3 separate regions of the Homo sapiens genome follow, and all the other regions are linked to region 3. Evidence: promoter capture Hi-C in 16 types of primary human blood cells and fetal thymus (Javierre and others, 2016). All regions are on one chromosome and are shown on one strand. The core of a region is centred on a gene start or on the middle of the fragment in contact, and the rest is flanking DNA. Distances in the headings are between cores, read along the strand shown. Region 1 overlaps DIAPH3 (diaphanous related formin 3). Region 2 overlaps TDRD3 (tudor domain containing 3). Region 3 holds the start of DIAPH3-AS2 (DIAPH3 antisense RNA 2).

Region 1 (3,243 bases), core at 235-2,734, 260 kb after region 3:
GGGCTACAGGGGCAGCTGCTATGGCTCCTGTGCCCCTCACAGCACTGAATGGGGCCCAGTCAATACTTGTTAGTTCATTGATTTTTCTAAAGGTCTTTTTACGTTGTTCCCTCTCTAACAACATATATTGCCAACAAACAAAATTTTGAAATAAAATTACCCTTAGGGTTCTGGATATTGCTTCTTGATTTTTACCAGTCACTGCTTTTAACATCTCTTCATTCTGACATATGACATCTGTGTGTGGGGGGGTTACAGGAGTACTGCTCCCTGCCTTCAGGAAAAACAGGAGTGAAATCAATGTATTTTTCCTTTTTTGGATTGATCTTCAGATTACATCTCATTATTGTCAGATTTGGGTTTCGTGAATTTATATTGCCAAGACTTTGTAACAATAGATTTAAAGGATAACTGTAAAAATGAAATTCTAATTTCTTCTAGCATTCTAATTATTAACTAGCTTACATTTTATGTTTATTGTTCATTTACCCTTTCCTTTTTCTCATTTTTAAAAATGACTTTCTGTTGCCATTCAGAGTATTATTTGAGCACCATAGTTCATTTCTGCCTTCCACTTAGTCTTAGACAAGTCAGAAGTTTAGTTTTCTTAGCAGGAAAACAGAATGCAAATCCCCAGTGTTGATAGAATATGAGAAGTGGTGAGGATGCGGAAACATTGGTCGGGCTTTTTACATATACATATATTTTCCCCCTTCTTAACCCTTTTTATTTGATTCCACCTGAAGAAATAAAGTTTGATTCAAATAATGAGGAAAAGGGCTGGGCGCAGTGGCTCATGCTTGTAATCCCAGCACTTTGGGAAGCCCAAGTGGGTGGATCACTTGAGGTCAGAAGTTAGAGACCAGCCTGAACAACATGGTGAAACACTGTCTCTACTAAAAATACAAAAAATTAGCCGGGCGTGGTGGCTCATGGCTGTAATCCCAGCCACTCAAGAGGCCGAGGCAGGAGAATTGCTTGAACCCAGGAGGTAGAGGTTGCAGTGAGCTGAGATTGTGCCACTGCACTCCAGCCTGGGTGACAGAGTGAGACTCTGCCTCAAAAAAAGAAAAGTAACCCTTCTGTTATTATCATAGATTCCATGATTTAGATCTTGGAACATTAACCTTAAATGATATTTTGTTGTTAAATAAAAAGGGCAACCATTTGGCCTAGGGGTCATCATATGACTAAATAGTGAACTAAAGACAGGCACCTTCTCCAGGTGACCTTTCAAGTTCTTTTCCCACTCAATAATTTTATTTATTAAAACACATTTACTCAATAATAGTCAAATACTGATTTATCTAAACTTGGAAGAAAGAACAATAGGAAAAGGACATCTAATTTTTTTTTTAAGTGTTGTTCAAAGCTTTGTTTTTAGGTTACATTTCCTGACTTTGCCTTGTCAGGGATTTTCATGAACTTGTAGCACTTTGTTCTGCATTACATCATAGACTTACTCTATCTTTTCAAGGTACCTGTCCCTAGTGCCAGATACACTCATTATTCATACAAATCTAGGTTATATTTTTCTAGGAGAATTAATTACTCTATGCTGGCTACATATGGTTAGCTTGTCAGCAGGAAAGCTTTAACATATTTTGGGGTGGTATAATGTAGGCATTTAAGCAGTCTCTTTTTTCTTCTGTGCATGAATGTAGTAGTACATTAATATATGTTAGAATTAATATATTTCGTAATACAAATGTTTTGCATAGAATACTGGAGAATTTCTTCTCATATGTATTGCAAGTACCTGGCTTCATAATCATGAATAATGGCACTTACTGAAAACAGCGATGCTATGAGCCCATTATACACCTTCAGAATGGCCATAACTACAGGTACTACATGTGAGTGCTCTTTTGTATGTCTGACTGCTCTAAAGGACATATTAAGTGTAATAGAGCATTATTCATGTTACCAGTGTCATATGAACATCTTCCTTTTGCAATGGTTAAGGATAAAAAAAATCCAGGTAAGTGAACCCATCTGTCTTAAAATATAATATATTTTAAGACAAATGTCTTTGTGATAAGTGATCACTGCTTAAAAAGAACAATTCATGCCCAATAAGAATCAACATTATAATAGTACATCTTTGTCTCTTTATAATTTCATATCGCTTAAACTTACTCTATAAACTTAATGATATTTCTTCTTCTTCTTTTTTTTTTTTTTTTTTTGGTCCTTGTTGAACTTACATTCTTTGTTTTTCCTAGACAGTGGAATATGAAGACGTTCCTTAAAGTGCCTTGTAAAGTAGACTTCTTATTAATAACTACATTAATTGAGCCCTTAGAATCTTGATTGTATATGAATAACCATTTAATTTGGCAAGGGTCTGGGGAGAAAGCTAAGTATAAATTAGATATTTATATTATTTGAAAATGGAACTTTTCATTCACTATAGGGCTTTGGTCTATATGAAAATATTCTCTCAGAGTTGTGTACAAAGAACTAATTCTTTATTGCTCAATTTTTGTCAGATGAGTAAGCTGAGTTATGTTTAGTCATTAAGGCAGTGTCTATAATATATTGGAGTCTTATAAGCCTTTGTCTAGTATATTTTAAGTAACGGTCATTATTATATTATGAGCTGATAGCTTTCTGTATCCCAAACAATCATGATTTTCATTATATTTGGCATCCTACAGGCTTCATATAGCATTGTTTTTTAGCCTTTCCTTTACAGTCTGTGACTAAGGGAGAAACAGTCCCTATTTTAATCTGTCACTGCTTTTTTTCTGACCTTGCCTTAACCTGCTTTTGATATTTACAATAGTTGTTGAAGTTCAACAATTTTACTATTACCGCCCCTTCAGTGCGTTTTAAGTCCCAAATCCCTAGTGTGTTTGGTCAAGGAATTCATATCTAGCTTCATATGTGGTATGTCTTCAGCCTACAGCTAAGTGATTATTTCCTGCATGTGTGTTGATATAACACAGGAGTAAGGATAAAGGCAGGAACTTGCCCCTTTGTTCTTTTAGACACCTCCAGTCCCCCACATTCCCAGTAGAGAAACCTAGAGTCCCAGACAGGGTTAACTTGGCATGTGATAGATTTGTGGGTTTGCACCGCTTCTGCCTGCTACTACTCCCATGTTTCCTAACTCTGATTCTGCTAATTTAGTATGTGTCAGGAGTCATTCTACTTTCCTGTGTTTCTGAAGAAAGTCAATTTAGTACAAATTGGGACCTATTTACTCTCCCTCTATCTAACACATACTGTTAGTCAGCA
Region 2 (3,082 bases), core at 523-3,022, 270 kb before region 3:
GATGTCAGAAGAAATAAGGTTTCCATTTTTATAATATCCAATTACAAGATAGTGAATTCATGATGCCAGATGTCAGAAAAAGACTATCTGTGGGCACAGAAGGAACAGAGCAGGAGAAAACTTTCTTGGGTGATGAAAACATTCTATATAACATTTAGAATGGGGGTTACTTAAACGTACACAACTATCAAAACCTATCATGCTAAACACTTAAGAGCTGTGCATTTTAATGTACATTAATTGTGCTGCAATTTAAAAAGACAAGTCCATTCAGTTTATTTATTCAATAAACATTTGTTGAGTCTCTATCTACTCTGTGGCAGACACTGTACTAGTCCCAAGAATTCAAAGATGAAAAAACCATGGTACTGACCTCAAATAAGTTTAGTCCCAGTGAAGCTTGGTTTACTTGAGGAGACAAACATATAAACAATTATAGCACAATGAGCTAGAGACAGAATGTTAAAGGACCTCAGAAGAAGGGTACCTACTTTCTATCAGGGAAGACTTCTTATAACAGATGACAGTTATGTTTTAAAATGATGGACAATAATTAACTAACTTAAATGGAGAAAAAAATCCAAGCAGAAAGGACAAGATCAGAAATGGTACAGTGGCAGGACATAAAATACCATGTACATAAGAGACCCACAAGCAAGTTGGTCTTGTTAGAGCATAAACTGCTGGAGAGGTAGGAGCAAAAATGGATGCCACAAAGAAACAAGAGGCTATGCATACCTTTGTAAGACAGACTTCATCCTGTAGGTGACAAAAGATCTAAAGATTAGACAACCTTTATAGATAACTCATTCTAACACCTATAGAAAAGACAGATTTGAGACAGTAAGCAAGAAGACCAATCAGGAGGCTACTCTCAAGAATAAAGGCCTGAAGTAGAAAAATATTTAGAAGGTAAAATTGGCAGGTCTGATTCTTAATTTAGATATGAGTGAATAGGAAAAAGAAAAAAATGACTCATGAATGGTGAGATGAGTGTACCACCTCTAAAACAAGAGTGTAAAGAGAAGAAGAACTTGGGAGATGGAGGGGAAGAGAAGTACAGTGAAAGGCATGAGGAGTTCGAGGTGCCCCTGGGATACCTAGTTCGAATTGTGCAGAGTATTTCATATATAAGGCTGTATTTTGAAGTTCAGGCCCAGAAAGATTTAGGAATCATCAGTATATAGAAATTAGTTTAAATCGGCCAGTGTGGCGGCTCACACCTGTAATCCCAACACTTTGGGAGGCCGAGGCAGGTGGATCACCTGAAGTCAGGAGTTCAAGATTAGCCTGGCCAACATGGTGAAACTCCATCTCTACTAAACATACAAAAATTAGCTGGGCATGGTGGCAGGAGCCTGTAATCCCAGCTACTCAGGAGGCTGAGGCAAGAGAATCACTTGAATCCAGGAGGCAAAGGTTGCAGTGAGCTGGGATAGCCTCCAGCCTGGGCAACAGAGTGAGACTCCATCTCAAAAAAAAAAAAAAAAATGAAATTAGTTTAAATCATGAAAGCAAATGAGACTGGGTCAAGTACAATGGCTCACACCTGTAATCCGAGCACTTTGGGAGGCTGAGGCAGGAGAAGCCCTTTGAGGCCAGGAGTTTCAGACCAGCCTGGACAACATAGCAAGAGCCCATCTCTACTAAAATAAAAAATTGGCCATGTGGGGTGGTGTGTGCCTGTAGTCCTAGCTACTTGGGAGGCTGAGGTGGGTTTATCACTTGACCCAAGGAGATTGAGGCTGCAGTGAGCTATGATTATGCCACTGTACTCCAGCCTGGGCAGCAGAATAAGACCTGGACTCAAAAAAAAAAAAAAAGAGAGAGAGAGACTGATCAGTTAAAGTCAGAAGAACAAGAAAGTGGACCAAAGATAGAACTTTGTTAGTACCAATAAGGAAACTAAGAAAAGCCAGGGAAAGGTATGATAAGAATATCATAAAAAGACAACGAATGATGAGAAAGGAATGAAGAGAACAAGAACAAGATGAGGAGAACAGTGTTAGGGGAGACAAGGAATAGTGAATTTTAAGACACTATGTCTTAACAGTGAATTCCAAGATAGACATAAACCGTCCAAAGTAACAGAGCCAGTAAGGAAAAATTTGAAAGATATCTCACAACTGGAAGGTCACTGGTACTTTAGCAAAAGCATTTCAGCAGTGTGGAAGAAGCACAAGCCAGACTGTAGCAGACAGCCCAAAGAAACAGTAGCTATAAGTAAGACTAATGCAAACAAATGTGCACATGAACACAGTCATACATGTGCTAAACATTACAACAACAAGAAAAGGCATTCGTAAAATATTTTCTTAAAAAAGGAAACTCAGATTTTGGAGAAAAAAGTCTTGCTTAATAAATATCTACTTGGTAAATGAATGTTTTAAATACAGCTTCATTCACATACTGCTTTGGAAATAGCACTAAGAATGGAATTAGTAGTTGACCATATCAGCTCAACTGATCATGGGAAAGGTAAGAGCAAGTATCACCATCTTTCAATAATCACTGTTTTGTAAATCTGTTCTTAAAACTTCCTTAGTTAAAAAAAAAATCTCATTAGAAATTTAGACTAAGAACTATATTATGAGTACTTCCACATCTTCCTCTAAAAATCTTTACACTTTACACTTAGAGAAACCTTAATTATTGAAAAGAGTCAGTGAAATCATAAAGTGGATCATTTTTGCCATGATTTGATATTGTACCATGTTAAATCTAAAATCAATACCTTATCAACTTCCAAAACACAATTTTTGAGCCATCCAACAAAGTTATTAATTCTTAAGCAAAGGGTATTTTAAAATGTCCAACATTAACACTAATAAACATTATTAACTGATTCTATTTTTAAATAGGGGAAGGAGACAAGTCAAGGACACTGACGGCCAACCAGAGTTCTCCCTTTCTTCACTTTTCCTTAAGAAAAAGATATATTGATGAAGTTTGTCTCTAAAGAATGTTTTTCCGTAAATTGTCTTTGCTTGAGCCTTGATCTCTTCACCTATCCTTGAAATAAAGGCCAGAACTATCTTTGTAAACTTGGCAAATCTGATCTTTTCATGGCTCTTATTTAAAA
Region 3 (3,293 bases), core at 503-3,002:
TGAATCTGTGTTTTTCAGTATGTTTAGCTCTGGCAGGCAGTTACTAATGTTATATTGTTTTTTTGAATCACCAAGAAGGGAAAATAAATGACCCAGCTTATTTCTTTTTCCTCTAGAACTTATTGGATTGTAAACTTCTTCAGGGCAGGTACCATATTTTATAGGTCTTTATGACCCAGCCTGCACCTGGTGGCCTGGTAACTTAGATGTGCAGTAACTATATCCTGTTTGGTTAATATTTCTGAAAGAAATGTAAAAGGTAACCTACATCTTATGCGTAGTACTGGAACTGCATGTAAAAACTGGAATTGTGCTCTTCATTTTTCAGATGCTCATTTTATAAATATGTAATCATCTTTTTGATTCCTTTTAAGAGATAAAACAACTTAGAGGGTGTAATAAGTAGTATTAAATTATACAAGAAAACTTAATGGTAATTCAGTTATTTAGAATAAGTTCAAACTTTATCAATAATTTAAGAAATTAAATTTTCTTTAGCTGTTGTATTATAATTCCTGACAAGCATTTTTTAGTGACATGTTGGAATGTGGATAATTTTGGCTTATGTTTCAGTCTGAATTGGGAGTGTATGGTTTATAAGGTTTGTGGTATATACCCCAGCTTTAAAAATCTATAAATGAGAAATAAAAAAGCTTTTCATTTCTATTACACATTTGAGAGCAACTTAAAAAAAAAAAGGAGGAAACACCCTAGCAAACCATGTATTCTTATTAGTGTTAGTCAATTGACAGAAATTGCAACCCCCCTCCATGCCCATTTATCTTTGAGGTTTTGTTTTTTGAGACGGAGTCTCGCTCTGTCACCCAGGCTGGAGTGCAGTGGCACGATCTCAGCTCACTGCAAGCTCCGCCTCTGAGTTCACGTCATTCTCCTGCCTCAGCCTCCCAAGTAGCTGGGACTACAGGTGCCCGCCACCACGCCCAGCTAATTTTTTGTATTTTTTTTAGTAGAGACGGGGTTTCACTGTGTTAGCCAGGATGGTCTCGATCTCCTGACCTTGTGATCCACCCGCCTCAGCCTCCCTGCTGGGATTACAGGCGTGAGCCACTGCGCCTGGTTTTAAGGTGTGGTTTTGTAGTCAGTGTTGTTGTTATCATTTAGTAATCATCCAATTGGAATTATGCTCATCTTTCTTGTTAAGATTTCATTTTTGAATTCTTTGCTCCATAAATAATTCAGAAACTGCTTCAGCAGCTGGCTGTCCCATCATAGTTCTGGGGACTGAGGGAAAGGAAGGAGAGTGAGGCTGGATTTTTGACTCATTCCCAGCCTAGGTACTCACCAACCCTTATAAGTCACTTCTGTGCTGTTCAATTTCCTGTTCTCTAAGATGGGGATAATAGCGAGTTTTTAGGGTTGCTGGGTATACTAGTAATCGCAAAGTGTCCAGTAAGGTGTAGTAGTAGTGATAAGGTGGGCTGTATCATATGGGTACCTAGGGACCCATTTAGCAATCTTGGGTTCTGTCTCAGTTAAAGGCCCATTTGGTCTAAAGGAACAGATCCCTATACAATATCTACTGTAATCCTGAAAGGAGGAATTGTAAAGATACACAAGAGTAGCACCTCTAATCAAGCTGGCCGTCACAAAGGACTGGAACCAGGAACTAAAAGCTGACAGCTTTTCTCAGTCTCTTTCCCTCTCAGGCCATCCAGTGTCTCTTTGCTTCTCACTAGGCATAGCTCCACTGTTGATTCTCTGCATTGTGTGGCTTCCTCTGCTTTGATCTTCACACAGCCAAGCCTAGAACCTCATAATTCCAGATAGACATACATGTCCTTGGTCCGTGCAAGAGTAGAGCCTGATTTTCATATCTGAATTCCAATTCTAGAATTCTGGGAAAATGGAGATTTGATTGGCTCTGCTTGGGTTTATATTCTGCCTTGTGTTTAGCTGCGGCTAGGGCTGGCTTACAAGGAACAGTGAAGACTGGTGGGCCTACCTCTATGGCATAGGCATTCTCAGAGAAGAGACAGTGTGCAGGAGGCAGATACACCCACAGGTGTCTACCTTGTTTACATGTGGGGATCTTTGGAGATTTCTTGATGACAGTCTTGGTGCTGAAAGACTGAGTCTAAAATAGTTTGCCTAGTTTTAGTAGTTTTGTTTCCAGGTTGCACATTAGAGTTACCTGGGGACCTTTAAAATTATCCATGGCAGGCTCCATCTTTGGGTATTGATTCATTTGGGCTGGGATATTACATAGGCATCCGTATTGGGAAAAGAAAACAAGCTTTCAGGTGATTCTCATATGTAGTCAGGTTGATAACCACTGCCTAAAATGTTCCCTGCACCATGGTAGGGCTGGGGATTCAAAGTTGAGGGGAACATAGTACCTGCGACATACAAACAGAAAAGGAGGTATAAACACAAACTGCAAGACAAACCATTATCGGTGACCCAAGGGAATTGTAAACAAAAGGGCTGTGGGAAGAAGGAAATGAGATCATTTCTCCATAATAATGAAGGTTGATCCACCCTTACTCTAAATTTTTATCTGCAGTACCTACTTAATCTGTTTACCTCACATCTGATTCGTCCATCTGACTGTGAGTCTCCTGAGGCCCTGGCAACATGCTGGCTCTGGGGATGGCATTAGGAAACTGCCACTGCATAGATTTTTCAACCCCCATATTTGAGCCCCAAAGAAATATGACAGCATGTGAAAGGCCCCAGAGGGCAGCCCAACATAACTGACACCCAGCAAAACAGAGCTGCTGGTAAATTGACCATGACAAAAATCAAGCCCACAGGAGAGGCAGTACACATTTAAAATGGATTTAGATGGATTACAGACTGGTTATGGGGCCCTAGAGGAGGAGAAGACTATTGGGAGTATCCTTGAGAATGAGTGAGCTGAACCCAGGTGATGCCTATATGGATCTTACTGTGAAGGAAGCAGAATAACATTGGTCAAAGTTTCTGAACCTCAGGTGTAGTATTTTGTGTACCATGGTCTTTTCTATAAGTCTTCTACCAAGCCTATGGGGAAGATGCTTGTTTGCCTCATAGTACAGTTAAGAAATTCAGGCTCAGAGAGTTTAAGTGCTCAAGATCACACAGATGATTGGTATCAGAGCTGGATTCTGATCCAGGTGAGTCTTATCCCAGAGCCGAGGCTGTTCACCTCTGCTCAGTACTGCTCTATTGTGCCACAGTGCAAGGCAGGATGTAAAAGTGCTAGGAAGGCACGCTTGATGTGGGCAAGCTTAGAGAACCTTCCTGAATCAGGCAGCATTTGAAAGGTGAGCCAGGTATTGAGAGGGAGAGGA

What was found. The method cuts DNA at HindIII sites, captures the fragments that hold promoters and counts their contacts. A CHiCAGO score of 5 or more calls a contact.
Region 1: a fragment that was not itself captured here is called in contact with the fragment with the promoter of DIAPH3-AS2 in region 3 in 1 of 17 cell types (M0 macrophages); the score reaches 5.6 in M0 macrophages.
Region 2: a contact is called between a fragment that was not itself captured here and the fragment with the promoter of DIAPH3-AS2 in region 3, in 1 of 17 cell types (activated CD4 T cells). The highest score is 5.1, in activated CD4 T cells.

The regions. Positions count from the first base shown.
Region 1 is chr13:59,879,925-59,883,167 of GRCh38, reverse strand. All of the region lies in intron 20 of DIAPH3 (diaphanous related formin 3), which reads left to right. Among named protein-coding and RNA genes, the nearest start is that of DIAPH3-AS1, 130 kb to the left of the region's middle. The HindIII fragment of the contact is 220 bases long and covers 1,375-1,594 here.
Region 2 is chr13:60,415,761-60,418,842 of GRCh38, reverse strand. All of the region lies in intron 1 of TDRD3 (tudor domain containing 3), which reads right to left. Among named protein-coding and RNA genes, the nearest start is that of TDRD3, 20 kb to the right of the region's middle. The HindIII fragment of the contact is 2,742 bases long and covers 402-3,082 here.
Region 3 is chr13:60,143,157-60,146,449 of GRCh38, reverse strand. It overlaps DIAPH3-AS2 (DIAPH3 antisense RNA 2), which reads right to left and starts at 1,752. Exons shown (of 3, transcript NR_046540.1): 1 at 1,587-1,752. The region is part of intron 1 of DIAPH3 (diaphanous related formin 3); the gene reads left to right. The HindIII fragment of the contact is 1,601 bases long and covers 656-2,256 here.